Regions from separate parts of the Homo sapiens genome. Here regions 1, 2, 4, 5, 6 and 7 are each linked to region 3. The links are contacts of gene promoters, found by promoter capture Hi-C in blood cells and fetal thymus (Javierre and others, 2016). All regions are on one chromosome and are shown on one strand. The core of a region is centred on a gene start or on the middle of the fragment in contact, and the rest is flanking DNA. Distances in the headings are between cores, read along the strand shown.

Region 1 (2,700 bases), core at 78-2,577, 650 kb before region 3:
GAGCATTACCACCTGAGCTCCGCCTCCTGTCAGATCAGCAGTGATATTAGTCTCACAGGAGCTCAAACCCTATTGTGAACTGTGCATGTGAGGGATCTAGGGTGCTGGCTCTTAATGATAATCTAACTAATGCCTGATGATCTGAGATGGAACAGTTTCATACCGAAACCATCCCTACCACCCCTAGTTCGTGGAAAAATTGTCTTCCACGAAACTGGTCCCTGGCAACAAAAATGTTGGGAACCACTGTTATAAGCCATCTGTGAACCATGAAATGTTTGGGTCAGTCTCCTGAGACTGAAAATTTAATCAAAATTTCAGCAAGAACTTTCTCTTCCCACACTTTCCAGTGTGCCTGAAACCGGAATTTAAAAAAAATGTAATTGGAGCACGCAGAATCAATTCTTAACGCTGTTTCAATGTGTCCTTTCCCCCAAACAATACACTTAAGACATTTACTAAGTGTTAAAGAGCTACCTCTCTGTACTACTTGCTGTAATTTTCTTTGATCAGACTGATTTTTATTTAAAAGATTTGTTTTGTTTGTTTGTTTGTTTTTGTTTTTTAGAGCAGGAGTGAAAGTTTATTAAAAAGCTTTAGAGAAGTAAGGAAAGGAAGAAAAGGAAGGAAGGTACACTTGAAAGAGGGCCAAGTGGGCAACTTGAGAGACCAAATGCTGAAGATTAGTTTGTTTGTTTTTTTTTTTTCTCTTTGAGATGGAGTTTTGCTCTTGTTTCCCAGGCTGGAGTGCAATGGCATGATCTCGGCTCACCGCAACCTCCGCCTCCCAGGTTCAAGCAATTCTCCTGCCTCAGCCTCCTGAGTAGCTGGGATTACAGGCATGCACCACCACGCCTGGCTAATTTTGTATTTTTAGTAGAGACGGGGTTTCTCCATATTGAGGCTGGTCTCGAACTCCTGACCTCAGCTGATCCGCCCGCCTTGGCCTCCCAAAGTGCTGGGATTACAGGCGTGAGCCACCAGGCCCGGCTGTTTGGTTTTTTTTGAGATGGAGTTTTGCTCTTTTGCCCAGGCTGGAGTGCAGTGGCGTGATCTCGGCTCACTGAAACCTTTGCCTTCTGATTTCAAGCGATTCTTCTGCCTCAGTCTCCCGAGCAGCTGAGATTACAGGCGCCCACCACATAGCCTGGCTAATTTTTTTACTTTTAGTAGAGACGCGGTTTCACCATGTTGGGCAGGCTGGTCTCGAACTCTTGACCTCATGATCTGACCTCCTCGGCCTCCCAAAGTGCTGAGATTACAGGCGTGAGCCTCCGTGCATGGTGGAAGATTAGTTTTAAAAGAGTGTATCACATAGTGCTTAAGTACTGTGTTTTGTGCTTTTATGTTGTCATTAATAGTGCCTTCAAATTAGGGAGGAAACGACTTAACTCAGTTACTTGTAAAAGTTTGGTTGTGAAAGAAGCTAAATTAACTGCGAGGATTCAGCTTATAATTTTTTTTTTTTTAAATAGACTTTATTTTTCAAAACCTCTTTAGGTTCCCAGAAAATTGAACAGAAAATGCAGAGAGTTCCCATATCCTCTTTCCAGGCCTCCCTCACTATCAGCATTTCCTACAGAGTAGTACGTTTGTTACAATCAATAAATCTATATTGACACATCATTATCACCAGTCTGTAGTTTACATTAAGGTTCACTCTTAGTGTTGTACATTTTATGGGTTTTGACAAATGTGTAAGGACATGTTTCCACCACTACGGTATCACACAGAGGAGTTTCACTGGCCTAAAAGTCATCTGTGCTCCACTCACTCATCCCTCCCTCCCTCCCTCCCTCCCTCCAACTCCTGGCAACCACTGATCTTTTTATTGTTTCCATAGTTTTGTCTTTTTCAGAATAGCATATACTTGGAATCTTATAGTGTGTGGCCTTTTCAGATTGGCTTCTTTCATGCATTTAAGGTTCTTCATGTCTTGTAGAGGCTCAATAGCTTATTTCCTTTTAGTGATGAATGATATTCAGGATGTACCACAGTTTACTTATCCATTCACCTACTGAAGGACATCTTAGTAATTTCCAAGTTTTGGCAATTATGAATAAAGCTTCTATGAATATCTATGTACAGATTTTGTGTGGACATAAGTTTTGCAGGCTATAATTTTTCATCCTTAATCCTCAGTATCTAAGAACAGTGGGTAAAATTTGACCCAAACAGTACAGCTATAAATCTAGTTTCTGCTATCCCCTCTCACCAAGGCAACCGTTTCAAACGTTAACAAAGTCAATATGAAGGTTAAAAGAATCATGGCAGAAGTATTTAATCATATTATCCAAAGTTTATTGTACTTGGGAATGATTAGACTTAGAGTATCCATTAAGTACAGACTAAATGCAATCATGAACTTCCTCTTTGACTGCATGAGACCTTCAAAAATGCAGTGGTTGCTTTTAACCATAAATACTTTAGGCTGTAATTATGTACGAAGTAATGAGTAAATAGCTTGCATAAGCACTTTTACAAAGGGTAGAACAATTGGACCACAAGGTGGTGCCCAAGATATTTTAAATTCAGATCCTGGTGTCAGGTGAGCACTGAAAACCCAAGACTGGAAGATGAGTAGAATTAGAGCCAACAGATACTTGGAGCAGAAAATCCAATGTGTGTTTTAATGAAATGTATACATTCTTCTAAAATATCATCTTTCAATGATCATTATTACAGATTAAACATTTTAAA
Region 2 (2,700 bases), core at 145-2,644, 720 kb after region 3:
ATAATAATGGGAACTCCTAATTCCTCTCTTCCTCAAGCCCCTGGTGACTGCCATTTTACTTTTTGCCTCTATGATTTTGGTTACTGTAGGAAACTCATATAAGTGAAATCATTTGGTATTTGTCTTTTTGTGTCTCGCTCATTTCATCTAGCATATTGTCCTCAACGTTCATCCATGTTCTGGTATGTGTTAGAATTTTCTTCTTTTTTAGGGCTGAATAATATTCCATTGCATGGATATACCACATTCTGCTTGTCCATTTATCTGTTGATAGATATTTGTGTTGTCCCACCCTTTGGCCACTGTAAATAACACTGCTATGAATGTGGATATACAAATATCCGTTTGAGTCGCTGCTTTCAATTCCTTTATGTATACAACCAGAAATGGAATTGCTGGATCATATAGTAGTTCTAAATTTAATTTTTTGAGGAACCACTATACCATTTTCAACAGCAGTGCGTAAGGGTTCCAATTTCTCTACATCCTCACCAACACTTGTTATTTATTTATTTATTTATTTTAAAAATGTTTTATAGGCTGGGCGCGGTGGCTCACACCTGTAATCCCAGCACTTTGGGAGGCTGAGGCAGGTGGATCATGAGGTCAGGAGTTTGCGACCAGCCTGGCCAATATGGTGAAACCCTGTCTCTACTAGAAATACAAAAATTAGCAGGGCATGGTGGTACATGCCTGTAGGCCCAGCTGCTTAGGAGTCTGAGGCAGGAGAATGGCTTGACCCCAGGAGGTGGAGGTTGCAGTGAGCCGAGATTGTGCCACTGCACTTTAGCCTCGGCGACAGAGCAAGTGTCCACCAAAAAAAAAAAAAAAAATTTTATATAATAGCTATCCTAATGGATATGAAGTGGTATCTCACTGTGGGTTTTTGTTGTGTTTTGTTTTTTATTTCCATAATCAACACTGGAGGTACATTACAGTTTGTCCTCATGAATTCTAGTTGTTCTCATGAGGTACATTTTGTCCTTGCAGTTTTGACTTTGTCTTTGAAATGCCCCATGTCACATCTAGCTATTCTTCTGATTCCCAGGTCTAGAAACTACAGTGACTTCAGACCTGCCCCATGTACAATGGAAAGACTTCCATAACCTTTTTTCTTCTACCTCTAACATTGTCTAAAGTTTAATCTCTATCATACATCGCTTATTCCATCAAACTAATAATGATTTTACTTTGCAGATCAAATCCTAATGATATACAATTGATAAGTGTTTAGGAAGGGAAGTTTTGGGCTATAAATTGTCCCTCTTCATCTCATTTAATGCTTTTTGGCCTACTCTGTTTTGTTTGATATCAGAATCACAGCACCTGCTTTTTCAGAGTTGGGGTTTCCGTTATGCCTACATTTGAAAATCTTTTATTTTAAAGGGTGAACTGAGCCCACTTATAAATTGTTATATCTGATGTGGGTTGGTCTCAGCTGTGTCATATTGTTTCCTATTATAACTACTGCATCACTGTGCCACACTTACTGTGTTTCTTTCATTATTTGGTATGTATTCTTTGCTATTTTTAGAACTTTTGGGGTTTTGGAATAGGGTTTCCAATATTTGGGAATACATATATTTTGTTGTAGTGATTTTTATTTATATTTTTAATATATTACCCTTAATTCCTATATTTTGTTTCTAACCTTTTAACATCTGGTCTGTCTGTTTTATATGGTATCCTTTCACTACTACCTGCTACTGATATTGCAGACAATGATATTATTCTATTTTCCCTTCGCTCTTCCCCTTCTCCTCCAGTTGTCTTTAGTTGCACCTGTTCTAAGTTTATCAGAAAGTATAATGTATATACACTAGTCTTTCACCTTCTGAATATACAAAATGCTCTCCATTAGTCACTCTGCTGGCTTCCTCAGCTGTCTCTTGGTTGGAGGAAGCTCATTCTCTAAGATTCCTCATGAAAGGCCCATGTGAGTCACGTTCTCTGAATTTTTGCATTCAGGTCATATCTGTTTGCCTACAACCTTGACACTTGAGGGCTGGGTATAAAAATCACTGCCTGGTACTTTTTTGTGTGTGTGTCATGGAGTCTCGCTCTGTCACCCAGGCTGGAGTGCAATGGCATGATCTCAGCTCACTGCAACCTCTGCCTCCCGGGTTCAAATGATTCTTCCACCTCAGCCTCTCGAGTAGCTGCGATTACAGGCACCTGCCGGCTAAGTTTCATATTTTTTTTAGTGATGGGGTTTCACCACTTTGGCCAGGCTGGTCTTGAACTCCTGACCTCAGGTGATCCACCCACTCTGGCCTCCCAAAGTGCTGGGATTACAGGCATGAGCCACTATGCCCAGCCTGCCTGGCACTTTTGTTCCTTGTTAATGCTGCTCCACTGTTGCCTGGCTTTGCATGTTGCTGTTCAGAAGTCTGATGCCAGCATAAATTTTTATCTCTATAAGCAATTTGATCTTTTTTGCCTTTAAAATCTAATCGTTTTACTAAAATATATTTAGGAGTTGATAATTCCAGATCATTTCCCAAGGTACATGGAAGTCACTTTTGACATGTACATTTAAATTTTCCCTTATTCCTGGATTATTTTCTGGGGTTATAGTTTTAATATTAATTAGGTTTTATTGTTTAATGTTTGTACTTTAGGGACTCCACTTAACATGTATTTTGGTCTTCCTTTCCTGGCTTTTATTTTAACCTCTTCTCTCTGAACCTTTTTACTTCT
Region 3 (2,700 bases), core at 174-2,673:
AGGTCGGGGAGTTAATACGGAAAACAATGGCCCCATTCATCAGACAAAGCTTAGCTCTGTGGTTCTTAACCTTTTGGGTTACCTTTGAGAATCTGATTAAAGCTGGGGCTCCTCTGATCAAAAATGGGCGCCTAGAAATAAGCAGATGGGACTCAGTGGTTCGCCAAGAAATAAGATGGGATTCAGAGGTTTGCCAAGCCGCAGAGGCCCGCGAGGAAAGACCCCAGACTCAGCCAGCGGCGCTTCAATTGAGTTCACCGCTGGCTCGACCGAAAGCCACCTAATTAAGGAAATAAAGGGTGGCAAAGGCTGCCACCTTCCCTATTTTGTCAAGAGAGACGGATTCTGTCAACCGAAAAAAAAAAAAGGAAGAGCCAGCCCCGAGTGGCGCAAGAAATAAGAGATCAGCTGCTCAGAGCTTAGAGCAAACCGTCCCTGCGTGCAGGCCCCTCGCGCTCCCCTCCGGGCCGGGTACCTGGCAGAGCCGCGTCCTCCGCGTCCTCGGCCTCCGCGTCCCCGGCCTCCGCGTCCTGCTCCTCCGGGGCCCCGCGCGCCCGCCGTTCCGCCTCCTCCTGGGTCGCCGGCTCTACGGGCGGCGGGGGCGAGGGCGGGGCGCACCGGGGTGCGGGGCCCCCGGCGCCCGACGACTCTGACGACGCCGAGTCCTCCGAGGAGCCGGCCGGGCCCCAGTCGTCCCAGAGCCAGGGCGCGTGCGCCTGCTCCAGCAGCCGGCGGCCTAGGCGGTAGTGCAGCAGCTCGCGGTAGCACGGCCCGTACTCCTCCCAGCGCGGCTCCTGGTAGCGCTTCATGTACTCGCTCTTCACCCCGCTCCCCGGGGACATGGTGCCGTCCGCCGCCTCGAGCGCCAGCCGCTCCTCGCTGCCCGCAGCCTACGGGACCCGGTACACGACACAGAGGCCGCCCCGCCCCTCCGCCGGCCCTGCCCGCCGCGACGTTTAAACCCGGAGCCCCGCCCGGACGGGAGCAGGGGGCGGGTCCCGGCGAGGGCGGGGAGGGGGCGGGGCGGGGGCGGCCTCACCCGGCGGCCGGGACCAAGAGCAGAGGCGGGGACCGGGGCTGCTGGGGTCGAGGGGCGCGCCGCCGAGGAGGGCTGCTCAGTGGGCGGAAGGCAGGGAGGCTGCGGGCTGGGGCGAGGGGACCGCAGGAGACTGGGGCTGAGCGGGAGGAGGAGCGAGGGAGGGGAGCGGCGGGGCCCGTGATCGGGTGGTCCTGGGGTCTCCGGAGGCGTCCCCTGAGCTAGGCGTGCGGTCCCGCGGGGCTGCCTTACCTCCTTCCCGCCGCGCCCGGCCGATCCTCTGCGCCCAGGCCCGAGGCGCGCGTGGCGCAGCAGCTAAAGCGCAGCTCGCTCTCCCGCGCGCTTTCCTCCTGAGCAAGATGTCGCCGCGGCGGCCCGCGCTCCAGCTGCAGGCGGGAGGCGGTGGCGCCGCCTCAGTCCCGGAGCCTCCACGCGCGCTCCCGGCCCCCGGGCCTCCGCCCGCTCCGTGGGGGCGGCTGCTTCCGTAGAGAGCGCGAGGCGCGGGGGTGCGGGCGTGCCTGCCAGTCCGAGGGGCCCAGGCCCAGGTCCCTGGCCCACTTATTTGAGGTGCCCGTCCACCCTGGTCCCAGCAGACGCTGTCCCAGGCACGCGTCACTCTGCAGGAGTCGTCAGTTAGGGGCAAGAGATGATCCCTCCAGATATGCAGCCCCCCCAGGCTGCGGCCGGGGGCGACACTCTCTGTCCTCACTCGAAACCTACCGGTTCTTCCTCTCTGTGTTCACAACACCTGTTACTCTGGCTTTAACTCCCTTTTATATCTACACTCCCCAAATTCTTTTAGATTTTGATCAAAACCATTTCACTCGCTCAGAGATTCGTTTGCACATAAAAGCTTGACAGATTAACTTACGTTGTGCAGAAGTATACAAAGTTGTCCCATTTGTTACAGTTTCAAAAGTGGCCCCACACTCTTTTCCCTTTTTACACATAAAACCTTCACAGATCCAGTTACTTTGTGCAGAAGTATACAACGTTGCCCCATTTGTTACAGTTTCAAAAGTGGCCCCGCACTGTTTTCCCTTTTTGCTCATAAAACCTCCACAGATCCGGCTGAGCGCTGTGGCTCACGCCTGTAATCCCAGCATTTTGGGAGGCCGAGGCGGGTGGCTCACGAGGTCAGGAGATCGAGACCATCCTGGCTAACACAGTGAAACCCCATCTCTACTAAAAAAATAAAAATAAAAAGAATTAGCCCGGCGTGGTGGTGAACGGCTGTAGTCCCAGCTACTCGGGAGCCTGAGGCAGGAGAATGGCGTGAACCCGGGAGGCGGAGCTTGCAGTGAGCCTAGATTGCGCCACTGCACTCCAGCCTGGGCGACAGAGCAAGACTCCGTCTCAAAAAAAATAAAAAATAAAAAATAAAAACCTTCACAGATCCAGTTACATTGTACAGAAGAATACAACGTTGCCCCATTTGTTACAGTTTCAGAAGTGGTCCTGCACTATTTTCCCTTTCTTAAAAAAAGAGCCTTGATACAGTAGCTGCAAAAAGATTTGAAAGGAAAAAACTTTTGGAAAATCTAAATATATATATAGCAGTTAAAAAGCAAGCCCAGGCCGTGAGTAGCGCTCACGGCTTCCACGTCAGGATTCCCACGAATTCACCTACTTTCTACGTGTCCGCATCCTGCCTCCCACCACCA
Region 4 (2,700 bases), core at 147-2,646, 680 kb before region 3:
CCCCTTGCTTTAGACACATCACAAACCACAGTGAGGCAACTAGCACACTACAGTGTTTCAAGTGCTATACTTTTTGCCATGCTATGACTTTTCATTTATTTATTTTATCACACTGTAACTGTAACAAGAGAATACAATGTGTGTGCAAATTACCAGACTAGGCACTTATCACAATATTCTCAACTCATAGGAAAGCAATAATAAGGAAAATCGGAAAAGTTAAGCATATTCTTACTATTGAGTTTAAGAAGAAAAAAGAAAAGTTAAAAAAAATTAAGCAGCAATATCTCAACACATAGCTGACATTATTTTTCTTTATTTTTATTTTTCTTTTCTGTTTTTCTTTTCTTTTCTTTTCTTTTCTTTTTTTTTTTTTTTTTTTTTTTTTGAGACGGAATTTCACTCTGTCCCCCAGGCTGGGGTGCAGTGGCATGATCTCAACTCACTGCAACCTCCGCCTCCCGAGATCAAGCGATTCTCCTGCCTCAGCCTCCCACGTAGCTGGGATTACGCGCGCGCGACACCATACCTGGCTAATTTTTGTATTTTTAGTAGAGACGGGGCTTCACCATGTTGGCCAGGCTGGTCCCGAACTCCTGACCTCAAGTGATCCACCCGCCTTGGCCTCTCAAAGTGCTGGGATTACAGGCGCGAGCCGCCACGCCCGGCCAACATAGCTGGATTTCTTTTTCTTCTCCCCTCCCCTCCCCTCCCCTTCCCTCCCCTCCCCTCCCCTCCCCTCCTCTCCCCTCTCCTTTTTTTCTCTTCCCTTCTCTTCTTTTCTTATCTTCTGTCGCCCAGGCTGGAGAGCAGTGGCACTATCACGGCTCACTGCAGTCTTGACCTCTCGGGCTCGCGTGATCTCCCACTTCAGCCTACCGAGTAGCTGGGACTACAGATGTGTGCCACCAGGCTCGGCTAATTTTTTGTAGTTTTTGTAGAGGCGAGGTTTCTCCATATTTCCCAGGCTGGTCTCGAACTCCTGGGCATCGGCCCTCCTCGGCCTCCCAAAGTGTTGGGATTACAGGTGTGAGCCGCTGCGCTCGGCCTGGATTTCTTCATAAAGATAAAATTGGAAATAAAATTGCAGCCCAAGTAAGCTTCCAAGTGGCTCATTTGTTCCTCAAATGAGGAAAGCCATTTGCGGATAGCGAATCAACAAATCATGTTTGTACTCATTTTCTCAGAAACGTATTCTGAGAAAATAATCTTTATGAAGAATGTTAACCTTTTTGCTAGGTGGGGTGGGACTTTGGGAAAAAACCCAACAGTTTATTAAAACAAACAAAGCAAGAAACCAAATTGTCCGGCAGAGGGCAGCATTACCCCACAGAGCCAAAACCTTTGCCAGGAGGAACCCGTGTTCATTGCCAAGATTGATTGATTTTGAGACAGAGGTTTGTCCTTGTTGCCCAGGCTGGAGTGCAATGGCGCAATCTCAGCTCATTGCAACCTCCGTCTCCCAGGTTCAAGCAATTCTTCTGCTTCAGCCTCCCGAGTAGCTGGGTTTACAGGCGCCTGCCACCATGACCGGCTAATTTTTTGTATTTTGGTAGAGATGGGGTTTCACCATGTTGGCCATTTTGGTCTCGAAATCCTGACCTCAGGTGATCCACCGACCTCAGGTGATCCATCCGCCTCGGCCTCCCAAAGTGCTGGGATTACAGGTGTGAGCCACCGTGCCCGGCTTGCCAAGCTTTATTAACTAACATTTGTGGTGCCAGGCTGTTATGGTGATTTCTTCCTATTAGCTTATTTAATCTTCATGAAAACCCTTCAAGATAGGTACTATTTTATTTTCATTTTACAAATAAGAAAACTGAAACTCAGAATGGCTAAGTGACTTTTACCTGGTTCACATATCAATTAAGGTCAAGCCTTTGGCTCCAGGACCTATGTTTTTATTGAAGTAAATGATTATAAAGTGCCTGCTATGCACTAGGCATGGTCTAAGCACTTCACATGCTTTAATTACTTTAATCTTTATGATAACCCCAAGATTTAGGTACTATTATTACCATTTCCATTGTACCGATAAAGAAACCAAGATAAAGAGGTGAAGGTGATCCTACCTTCCCAAGGGAACTCCCACTGTCAGGCTTGAGTCCACAGGAGAGGCTCTAGCTGCTCTACGTGGCAGCACTAGGGTGAAGGCAGTGAGGCTCCTACTGCTCTGGTTCTGGCTGGGTCACACATGTCGGGGATGGGTTGCCAGCTCCCTCAATAAACCCCTACCTAGTCTTCTGAGTGACTCAAATCAGGTATCTTTGGTAGAGTGGAGTGGGGAACAGTAATATATCTTTGAGTGGAGTGGGGACAGTAATATATCTTTGAGTAGAGTGGGATGGGGAACACTAATATGAGTCCCAGAGTCCCAGGATTGAGAACCTGCAGTTCTGATGTCAGAGAGCAGAAGTTGGATGTCCTAGCTCCAGAATAAAGAGCAAATTTGTCCTTCCCCTGTCTTTTTGTTCTGTTGAGACCTTCAAGGAATTGGAAGAATAATGCCTATCCACATTGGTGAGGACAGATCATTTTGACTCAGTCTAGTGGTTCAAATAGTAATACCTTCTACCCTGGGAGAAAGCAGTCCCTCCAGGGTCAGCAAGGCCCCAAGATGTCAAAGCATCAAAAATACAGAATAAAAAGGTCATAATTAACACAAGATGGACAAAAGCCTTCTTCACCCCAGCATCTAGA
Region 5 (2,700 bases), core at 157-2,656, 880 kb before region 3:
ACATTCGAATACTATTTGGCCATTAAAAAAAATGAAATCCCGTCATCAGCAACATGGATGGAACTGGAGGACATTATGTTAAGTAAAACAAATCAGGCACAGAAAGACAAATACTGCATGATCTCACTCATACGTGGGAGCTAAGAACATGCATCTCATGGAGGTAGAAAGTTGATTGCTGGTTACCAGAAGCTGGGAAGAGTGGTGGGGAAAGGAGGAGATGAAGTTGATTAATGGGTACAAAAATATGCTTAGAAGAAATGGTAACATCTAGTATTGGTTAGAAAAGTAGGGTGACTGTAGTTAACAATAATTAGTTGTATTGCTGGAGGAGAGGAATTGGAATGATCTCGACCTAAAGAGGGTGTGAATATGATGACGGATGTCCCAGTTGCCCTGGTTTGATTGTTAAGCCTATGCGTATATCAAAATATTTGTACCCCCCAAATATGTACAACTATTACGTACTACTAATAAAAAAGCATATTGCTCTGAAAAAGTGCTCTAAAAAATAAAGCCTATTTACAAAAAGAATTTGGAGGAAAGAAAACTCCCTTTAAGAAGAAACTAACCCAAGAAAATGGATTTACTTTATGAGGCCAGAGAGGTTAAATGTTGATAAATGCGTGGCTGTCATTGTGTTGGGAGTGTGCAGTGGGAACTGAGCCTGGGTAGAGTGCATCTTCTACCAGTGGGAACTGAGCCTGGAAACCGAATTCTAATTCCAGGCAACGTTTTTGCTTAGAGGGTGGGTAGCTCTCAGGTATTCGTGGTTGGGGTGTCACCGGTATGGGGTATTTTTAGGGGGAGGACAGCCTGGGCCCCAGTCAGGCCTGCATGCCTTAGTTTTTAATGTGTCATCCAGAGATCATACTTATTTTTCCTATGATTTGCTGGAGTTTTTTTTAAAAAGCACTATATTTGCATTATTCAAAATAATCTTTCACTGTGTAATATGCGTACACACACACACACACACATTTTGGGGGTAAAATACGAGAATCCCTTAATTGGGGAAATTTTAGCTGAGTGATAAGGAGATCTGTGAGCCTGCTGTTTTGATGTTTCAAGCAGGAAGGCGTGGCATAAAGAGCTGCTTAGGCGCAACGCTGCTGAAATGGTTTTGGCTAGAAGCTCACAGTGTCTAGTTGTGGCTAAGGAGGGAGGAAAGGGGCGGGAGAAGAACGGACCCAAGCGCCTCCGCCCAGACGGCGCGATAACCCCCTCACCTCCAACCCCGGACCTCAGTGAGCACGTCCTCCAGTCTCAGCCGCCAGGAGGCACTGGGGGCGGGGACGTGGCACAAGATCTTCCCGGAGGTGACCCACGCTCCTCGCGCGCAGGGCGTAAGCCACACACAGATCTTTGGATGGGATCCATGGCGCAATCGCCTGTACTGCCCCCTCTCTGACTTTGCCTGTGGCCAACACAAGACGAACGCAGCCTTTCTAAGGGAAATATGCCGTTACAAACAAGAAGCCTAATTTTGTCTCTAAGACTTGCGCCCCCACGGCTCAGTCTACTTTCCCTCATTACTCCAATTGAATCACAGGTCACAACCAGACCAGGTGGCACGCTCCTTTTGGAGCTTGGAGGTGGCTCTGAAAAGAGCCTTTGGGTTCGGGGCGCCGGGACGCACCTCACTTGGAGCTGGTGTACTTGGTGACAGCCTTAGTGCCCTCGGACACGGCGTGCTTGGCCAGCTCGCCGGGCAGCAGCAGGCGCACGGCCGTCTGCACTTCGCGGGACGTGATGGTGGAGCGCTTGTTTGTAGTGCGCCAGGCGGGAGGCCTCGCTGGCGATGCGCTCGAAGATGTCATTGACGAAGGAGTTCATGATGCCCATGGCCTTGGACGAGATGCCGGTGTCGGGGTGCACCTGCTTCAGCACCTTGTACACGTAGATAGAATAGCTCTCCTTGCGGCCGCGCTTGCGCTTCTTGCCGTCCTTCTTCTGCGCCTTGGTAATGGCCTTCTTGGAGCCCTTTTTAGAAGCCGGAGCCGCCCGCGATGGCTCCGGCATGGCGAGGTGACAAGAGCGCCTAGACGAACGCGGATGCGGGGCCGGCAGGGCTATTTGCCATCTTTATATTCAAATTAAGGCTCCAAATTTGTAGTGTCTGATTGGACGGCCTGACTCCGCGGCCGCCACTGGGAGGAATTTCTGTAAATAGCAGAGTCCGGTTCTTCTTTCCTATTGGACGGCGGTCCAACCAATCCCAAGGCATATCCGCCGCGCGCCGGAGCTGAGGTTGCGCATCTTTGTTCAAAGCCTTTGTTTTAAACCTGGAGATTTTTGTGTCTGCAGCGGATCTGGAGGTAGCTAAAGAGAAACTGAAAAACGGTTGCAACCCCAAATTGAGGTCTTCTCTGGCTGTGAGGCACATACATGGGGGCATTTTTTTTTTCTGAGGCCCACAGCTAGGGAGGGGTAGTTAGTGCTTATTTAGAAGGGGAGGTGGCGGTGGGAATGGCAGTTTGCAACGACCTTAACCCTTCGTTTCTTGCCCTTCCCTCCATTCCTCCAAAGATCAAAGAGATGCATTCTTCTCAGAATTCAATTGTAAATCCAAACGGTTCGTTAGGAAATACAGAAAATAGTACAGAAAACATGCTAAGGTACTTCAATTGGAATTGTCATGAGGCAGAGTTTTAACTGGAGAAATTGAATGGGTTTCAAATGAAACTTAGTCTTTCCTAT
Region 6 (2,700 bases), core at 11-2,510, 610 kb before region 3:
GATTTAACAGAGGAAAATAAACCAAGACTAATGCAGGAAAGGTGCCACCAGTGTAGCTCAGCCTGCCTAGAACAGCATCTGTTTTCCACGTTAGCAGCGAGTCTAGCCTTTCTCCTCTAGGCAAATCTACCTGCCATCCCTCTAAGGGCTCTCCCTGGTGCTTTCATTTTTCTTCCAGAACTGATGCATATAAATTGCCATTTATCTCTTGTGATAATTCTGCAGAACCAGTTCAGTTAGTTAAAATATTAAAACACTTATAAATAGCCATGGTGGAAGATGATACCCCCATTAAAAATAAATATTAAAGATGTAAATGATGTGCAGTACTTCATGTTCCTGGAAAAGCTTTGTATAAATAGGATTTTGGTACTCAAATCACATTTAAATTTTATTAGAGTGTTATTTAATTCAAAAAGTTTACAATATGTGATTAGCACTGTGCTAAGCTAAAGCAAACAGTTCTTTGGAATGCAAATAACCATGAGTTCTGTTTAATATGATTTATATGTTTGAATTTGTTTAATCTTTAAAATTTAAAAATATAGCATGATTCACAAAAGTGAATGAAACAAATATATAGCCAATAATTACTATACAGTGCACACCTATAAAACCACCACTCAGATCAAGAAATTGCCTGAACATCAGAAGTTTCCCATGACCCCTTTCCTTCCTGAATGTAACAATTGCCCCCAATTACTCTGACATCTAGCACTGATGAGTTTTGTCAATTTCTTTTCTTTTCTTTTTTTTTTTTTGGAGACAGAGTCTCGCTCTGTCGCCCAGGCTGGAGTGCAGTGGCACGATCTTGCCTCACTGCAAACTCTGCCTCCCGGGTTCAAGCGATTCTTCTACCTTAGTCTCCCAAGTAGCTGGGGCTACAGGTATGCACCACCACGCTGGGCTAATTTTTATATTTTCAGTAGAGTCGGAGTTTCACCATATTGGCCAGGCTGTGCTCGAACTCCTGACCTCATGATCCACCTGCCTGGGCCTCTCAAAGTGCTGGGATTACAAGCATGAGCCACCGTGCCTGGCCAAGTTTTGTCCATTTCTAAATTTTATATAAATCAAATAAGATAGTTTATACTCCTTTGTGTCTGATTTCTTTCACCTCTCATTTAGTTGATGAGATTCATTCCTGTATGTTCACTCATTTTCTTGACTGAATAGTAGTATATCATGAATTACCAAATTAACTCATCCATTTTACTGTTTTAGACATTTATATGGTTTTTAGTTTTGAGCTCTTATAAAATTGCCATTATACGCATTTGTTCACCCACAGAAATCCATGTGTTCACTCATAGAAATGCACGGGTACATATACAGACAGGAATGCACATGTTCATGTATAGAAATGCAGGGTATGCACACACAGAAATGAGTGTCACAGGTGGCATAGTTACAAGATGCAAGAAGACTGCATCCCTGAGTCTCCACTTGAAAGGGAGCTGCCTTGGAGAGCTACTAAATCTGCTGTGAATTTTGCATGACCAAAAAATTAACTCCTATGTTTCTAGACATTGAAATTTTGAGTTCACTTATTATTGCAGCATAGTACAGCCTAATCTGACTAGTATAAAACAACATAAACAGTTTCAGAAATAATTTTTACAATCAAAATTAAGGATTGATTTTTACATCTTAAACTTTCATGATACCAATGGAAGAGCTTAATTTATCCATTCTAGTTATCTACAAGGTGATGGCAGGTGATAAAAGGACTTCTGGAGGCAGGGAAACTAGTATCAGCACATCCAACCAACCATGTGGTCTGAGCCCTTACCATGACACTAACTGATGTTTGTGATTCCTGAAAGGAGCCACTGGTGGCCCATTTGGTGGTTTGGTGACATTTATATGATTTCCCCATCTTTTCTAGTGAAACATGGCAAGACATTTTCCTTGTCATTTTTTTTTCCTAGGATGACATCCCCAGTGGTAAACAAGAAACTATTGGTCAGGGCCCAGTCAGGAAATCAGAGCCACTCCAAGGTACAGGGTTAAGGAAGGAGAGCTTTCACAAGTTTGGGAATTGCTGGGGAAGTTCAGAGGGAAACAGTGCCTAACCCTGACCAGCTGAAACCCTTGTGCAGGATACTGGTGGGAACTTGGAGAAAAGCCAATAGTAAGTTATGCAGATATGGCCCTTGGAGGCTGTGGAAGGGAAGCTTGAGGCATGAGGTGTAGGGACTGCAGCCTCTTTGGGGCCCAGGGGCTGGGTGAGGGCTGAAGGCTGCTCTGGGTCAGCAGAGCCAGCAGTGAGATGATATCACTGCAAAGCAGGAGGCTAGTGAGGATGTGCTGGGCACCGCTGTGTCCATCCACTGGCATGTTTGACCATATGACCCTCCTCCACTTCCCTTCAGTCTTCTCAATTCTGAGAATCATGTCTCCGGACAACTTTAGCCGAGAACCATACAAAGAAGGAAATTCTGGGAGCAGACAGCCATGCTGGCAATAGACAACCCAGCTTAGAGTCTCCAGTTCTAGAGAAATATTCTTCTGATGTCCTCTTATAGGGTATTGAAAAAACTAGGGCACTGCTGAAGGAAAGAAATCAGATTAATGTGTCCAAGGCAAAGGGTTACCATTTAAAGAGTGAATGAACACACAGAGTTATATGACCTGCTAAAATGAAAGATCCAAAAAAACCGTGCTGTTCTGATTTGGTACTCAGTAAATGGTGAAATG
Region 7 (2,700 bases), core at 62-2,561, 960 kb after region 3:
TTAATAAAAAAAAGAAAGAAGAACATATTGGGCCAGGCTATTAAGGAGTAGCATAAGGGAGTTTCTTTGGGGAGATAGGACAGTTTCACGTCCTGACTGAGGTGGTGATTACTGGAGTCTACAAGTGTGATTAAATGTCATATATCTATACACCAAGAGGAAGGGACGGAGTCACTTGAACCCGGGAGGCGGAGGTTGCAGTGAGCTGAGATTGTGCCACTGCACTCCAGCCTGGAGACAGAGAGAGACTCCATCTAAAAAAAAAAAAAAAAAAAAAAAGCCAGACATTCTAAAAGCTTATCAATGGGGGAATAATTTTGTTATCTTTGTACATATATACTATGGCATATATTACATCATTTAAAAATAGCGTAGACACATGTAAATAAAGATCAATGATAAGAGAAAAAGTGACAAATATGTATAATCTGATCCAATTAATGTTTTTAAAAAAGAAAAAGGCTGCATGTATGTAAAAAGGCCTAGAAAGAGCTCTGAATAAATTTATTTTGTATTGCTATAAAGGAATATCGGACACTGGGTAATTTATCAGTAAAAGAGGTTTATTTGGCTCACAGTTCTGCAGGCTGCAGAGAAGCATGGCACCAGCATCTGCTTCTGCTGAGGGTCTCAGGGAGCTTCCAATCATGGTGGGAGGGGAAGGGGAGCTGTCATGTCATATGGCAAGAGAAAGGGAGCAAGAGAGAAAGGGGAGGACATGCCAGTCTCTCTTTATTTTATTTACTTGTTTTTGAAATGGAGTCTCACTCTTTCACCCAGGCTGGGGTGCAGTGGCGTGAACTTGGTCCAGTGCAACCCCTGTCCGCCTCCCAGGTTTAAGAGATTCTCAGGTCTTGGCATCCCAAGTAGCTGGGATCACAGGCACCCACCAAGAAGCCCAGCTTATTTTTGTATTTTTAGTAGAGATAGGGTTTCACCATGTTGGCCAGGCTGGTCTTGAACTCTTGACCTCAAGTGATCCACCTGGCTGGGTCTCCCAAAGTGCTGGGATTGCAGGCATGAGCTGCCAAGCCTGGCCCCAAGCTCTTGTTTTTTGAGACAGAGTCTCGCTCAGTCACCCAGGCTGGAGTGCAGTGGTGCAATCTTGGCTCACTGCAACCTCTGCCTCCTGGGTTCAAGCGATTCTTGTGCCTCAGTCTCTTGAGTAGCTGGGATCACAGGCACCTGCCACCAAGCCCAGCTAATTTTTGTATTTTTAGTAGAGATGGGGTTTCATGATGTTGACCAGGCTGGTCTTGAACTCCTGACCTCAAGTGATCCTCCTGCCTCAGTCTCCCAAAGTGCTGGGATTACAGGCATGAGCCACCGTACCTGGCTTCAGGCTCTTTTTAAACAACCAAACCTAAAGGTAACTAACAGAATGAGAGCTCATTTATTGCGATGGGGATGGCACCAAGCCATTCATAAGGGATCCACCCCATGATCCAAGCACCTCTCATTAGACCCCACCTCCAACACTGGGGATCACATTTCAACATGAGATTTGGAGGTGACAAATATCCAAACTGTACCAAGCTCTGAAAGTAAAACTAAATTGATGCACAGTGCTTACCTCTCCTAGACTCAGAGGGCGGAAGTCAATGCCCTCTCGTGGTGGGGGTGGAGGAGGGAAGGAAGACATGTGAAGGTCAATTTCATCATTTTATGAAAAGCATGAATACTAACGAGAATTTCTTATGATGACATGTCCAAGTATCTTTTGCTATTTTTTTTTTTTTTTTTTTGAGATGGAGTCTTGCTCTGTCACCCAGGCTGGAGTGCAGTGGCATGATCTCGCTCACTGCAAGCTCTGCCTCCCAGGTTTACACCATTCTCCTGCCTCAGCCTCCCCAGTAGCTGGGACTACAGGCGCCTGCCACCATGCCCGGCTAATTTTTTGTATTTTTAGTAGAGATGGGGTTTCGCCATGTTAGCCAGGATGGTCTCAATCTCCTGACCTCGTGATCCGCCCGCCTCGGCCCCCAAAGTGCTGGGATTACAGACGTGAGCCACTGTGCCTGGCCTTGGTAATTTAAAAAAAAACAAAAAACAAAACAAAACAAAAAAACAGGTTGTGCCAACAGCAAAATGGGAAAGGCAAGGATGTTTATTGACAGTCATCTACAATGACGGGAGTTTCACTCGTTGGTATCACGGGGACGACATCAAAAGCATCTGTAAGTAGAGTTGATACAGCCTTCCAAGGGTGTATCCCCAAACCTCACCTCTAGCCCAACGTGAAGCATCACAAACAAGTCAATGCTTTTACAGTAAACATCCCTTAGTTTACTGAGAAAGAAAAATTTAAAGTCTGGGGCAAGGACACTTAAGCTTAAACAGTTGCAGGTTGATGGAACCTTTGTAACTGATGAAATCTATGGACTTCTTGCCAGAAAGAAAAAGAAAGTCACATATACATACACAAAACAATATTTTCCTTACAAGTGGAGCCCTGAATTCCTGCCCTACAGAAGAAATAATGATTTTCCTGCCCATGAGGCCCTTCAGCACTGGGGCTTAATCCACTTTTTTGACTCGTATCCAACTACTCCCCCCACCACCCAACCCCATTCATTCATTGGCTCCCTCCCAACACCTTAGCTCACTCCCTGTCTATGTCGAAGGCCTTCCCTCCCTCCACTTTCCTGGCTGGCTCAGCTTCCCTCAAGTCCTAGTTGTCTTCTGGTCACCCCCCTGGAA

The links. The method cuts DNA at HindIII sites, captures the fragments that hold promoters and counts their contacts. A CHiCAGO score of 5 or more calls a contact.
Region 1: a contact is called between a fragment that was not itself captured here and the fragment with the promoter of CCSAP in region 3, in 4 of 17 cell types (total CD4 T cells, non-activated CD4 T cells, total CD8 T cells and 1 more). The highest score is 8.0, in total CD4 T cells.
Region 2: a fragment that was not itself captured here is called in contact with the fragment with the promoter of CCSAP in region 3 in 1 of 17 cell types (fetal thymus); the score reaches 6.9 in fetal thymus.
Region 4: a contact is called between a fragment that was not itself captured here and the fragment with the promoter of CCSAP in region 3, in 15 of 17 cell types (total CD4 T cells, fetal thymus, naive CD8 T cells and 12 more). The highest score is 16.0, in total CD4 T cells.
Region 5: a contact is called between a fragment that was not itself captured here and the fragment with the promoter of CCSAP in region 3, in 1 of 17 cell types (total CD4 T cells). The highest score is 5.2, in total CD4 T cells.
Region 6: a fragment that was not itself captured here is called in contact with the fragment with the promoter of CCSAP in region 3 in 5 of 17 cell types (naive CD4 T cells, total CD4 T cells, total CD8 T cells and 2 more); the score reaches 8.0 in naive CD4 T cells.
Region 7: a fragment that was not itself captured here is called in contact with the fragment with the promoter of CCSAP in region 3 in 1 of 17 cell types (fetal thymus); the score reaches 6.5 in fetal thymus.

Annotation. Positions count from the first base shown.
Region 1 is chr1:228,689,630-228,692,329 of GRCh38, forward strand. It overlaps a transcript of RHOU not described here. Among named protein-coding and RNA genes, the nearest start is that of RHOU, 44 kb to the right of the region's middle. The HindIII fragment of the contact is 1,471 bases long and covers 593-2,063 here.
Region 2 is chr1:230,062,493-230,065,192 of GRCh38, forward strand. It overlaps a transcript of GALNT2 not described here. Among named protein-coding and RNA genes, the nearest start is that of GALNT2, 3.4 kb to the right of the region's middle. The HindIII fragment of the contact is 4,741 bases long and covers 1-2,700 here.
Region 3 is chr1:229,341,624-229,344,323 of GRCh38, forward strand. It overlaps CCSAP (centriole, cilia and spindle associated protein), which reads right to left and starts at 1,424. Exons shown (of 4, transcript NM_145257.5): 1 at 1,289-1,424; 2 at 476-890. The coding sequence starts at 842. RefSeq lists silencers at 473-672, 873-1,732, 2,579-2,700. The HindIII fragment of the contact is 1,840 bases long and covers 48-1,887 here.
Region 4 is chr1:228,663,263-228,665,962 of GRCh38, forward strand. It overlaps a transcript of RHOU not described here. Among named protein-coding and RNA genes, the nearest start is that of RHOU, 71 kb to the right of the region's middle. The HindIII fragment of the contact is 596 bases long and covers 1,099-1,694 here.
Region 5 is chr1:228,462,573-228,465,272 of GRCh38, forward strand. It overlaps the pseudogene H2BC27P. Among named protein-coding and RNA genes, the nearest start is that of MIR4666A, 1.8 kb to the left of the region's middle. The HindIII fragment of the contact is 3,883 bases long and covers 1-2,700 here.
Region 6 is chr1:228,728,152-228,730,851 of GRCh38, forward strand. It overlaps a transcript of RHOU not described here. Among named protein-coding and RNA genes, the nearest start is that of RHOU, 6.0 kb to the right of the region's middle. The HindIII fragment of the contact is 1,829 bases long and covers 347-2,175 here.
Region 7 is chr1:230,304,782-230,307,481 of GRCh38, forward strand. No RefSeq gene overlaps it. Among named protein-coding and RNA genes, the nearest start is that of PGBD5, 120 kb to the right of the region's middle. RefSeq lists a silencer at 1,531-1,620. The HindIII fragment of the contact is 2,035 bases long and covers 295-2,329 here.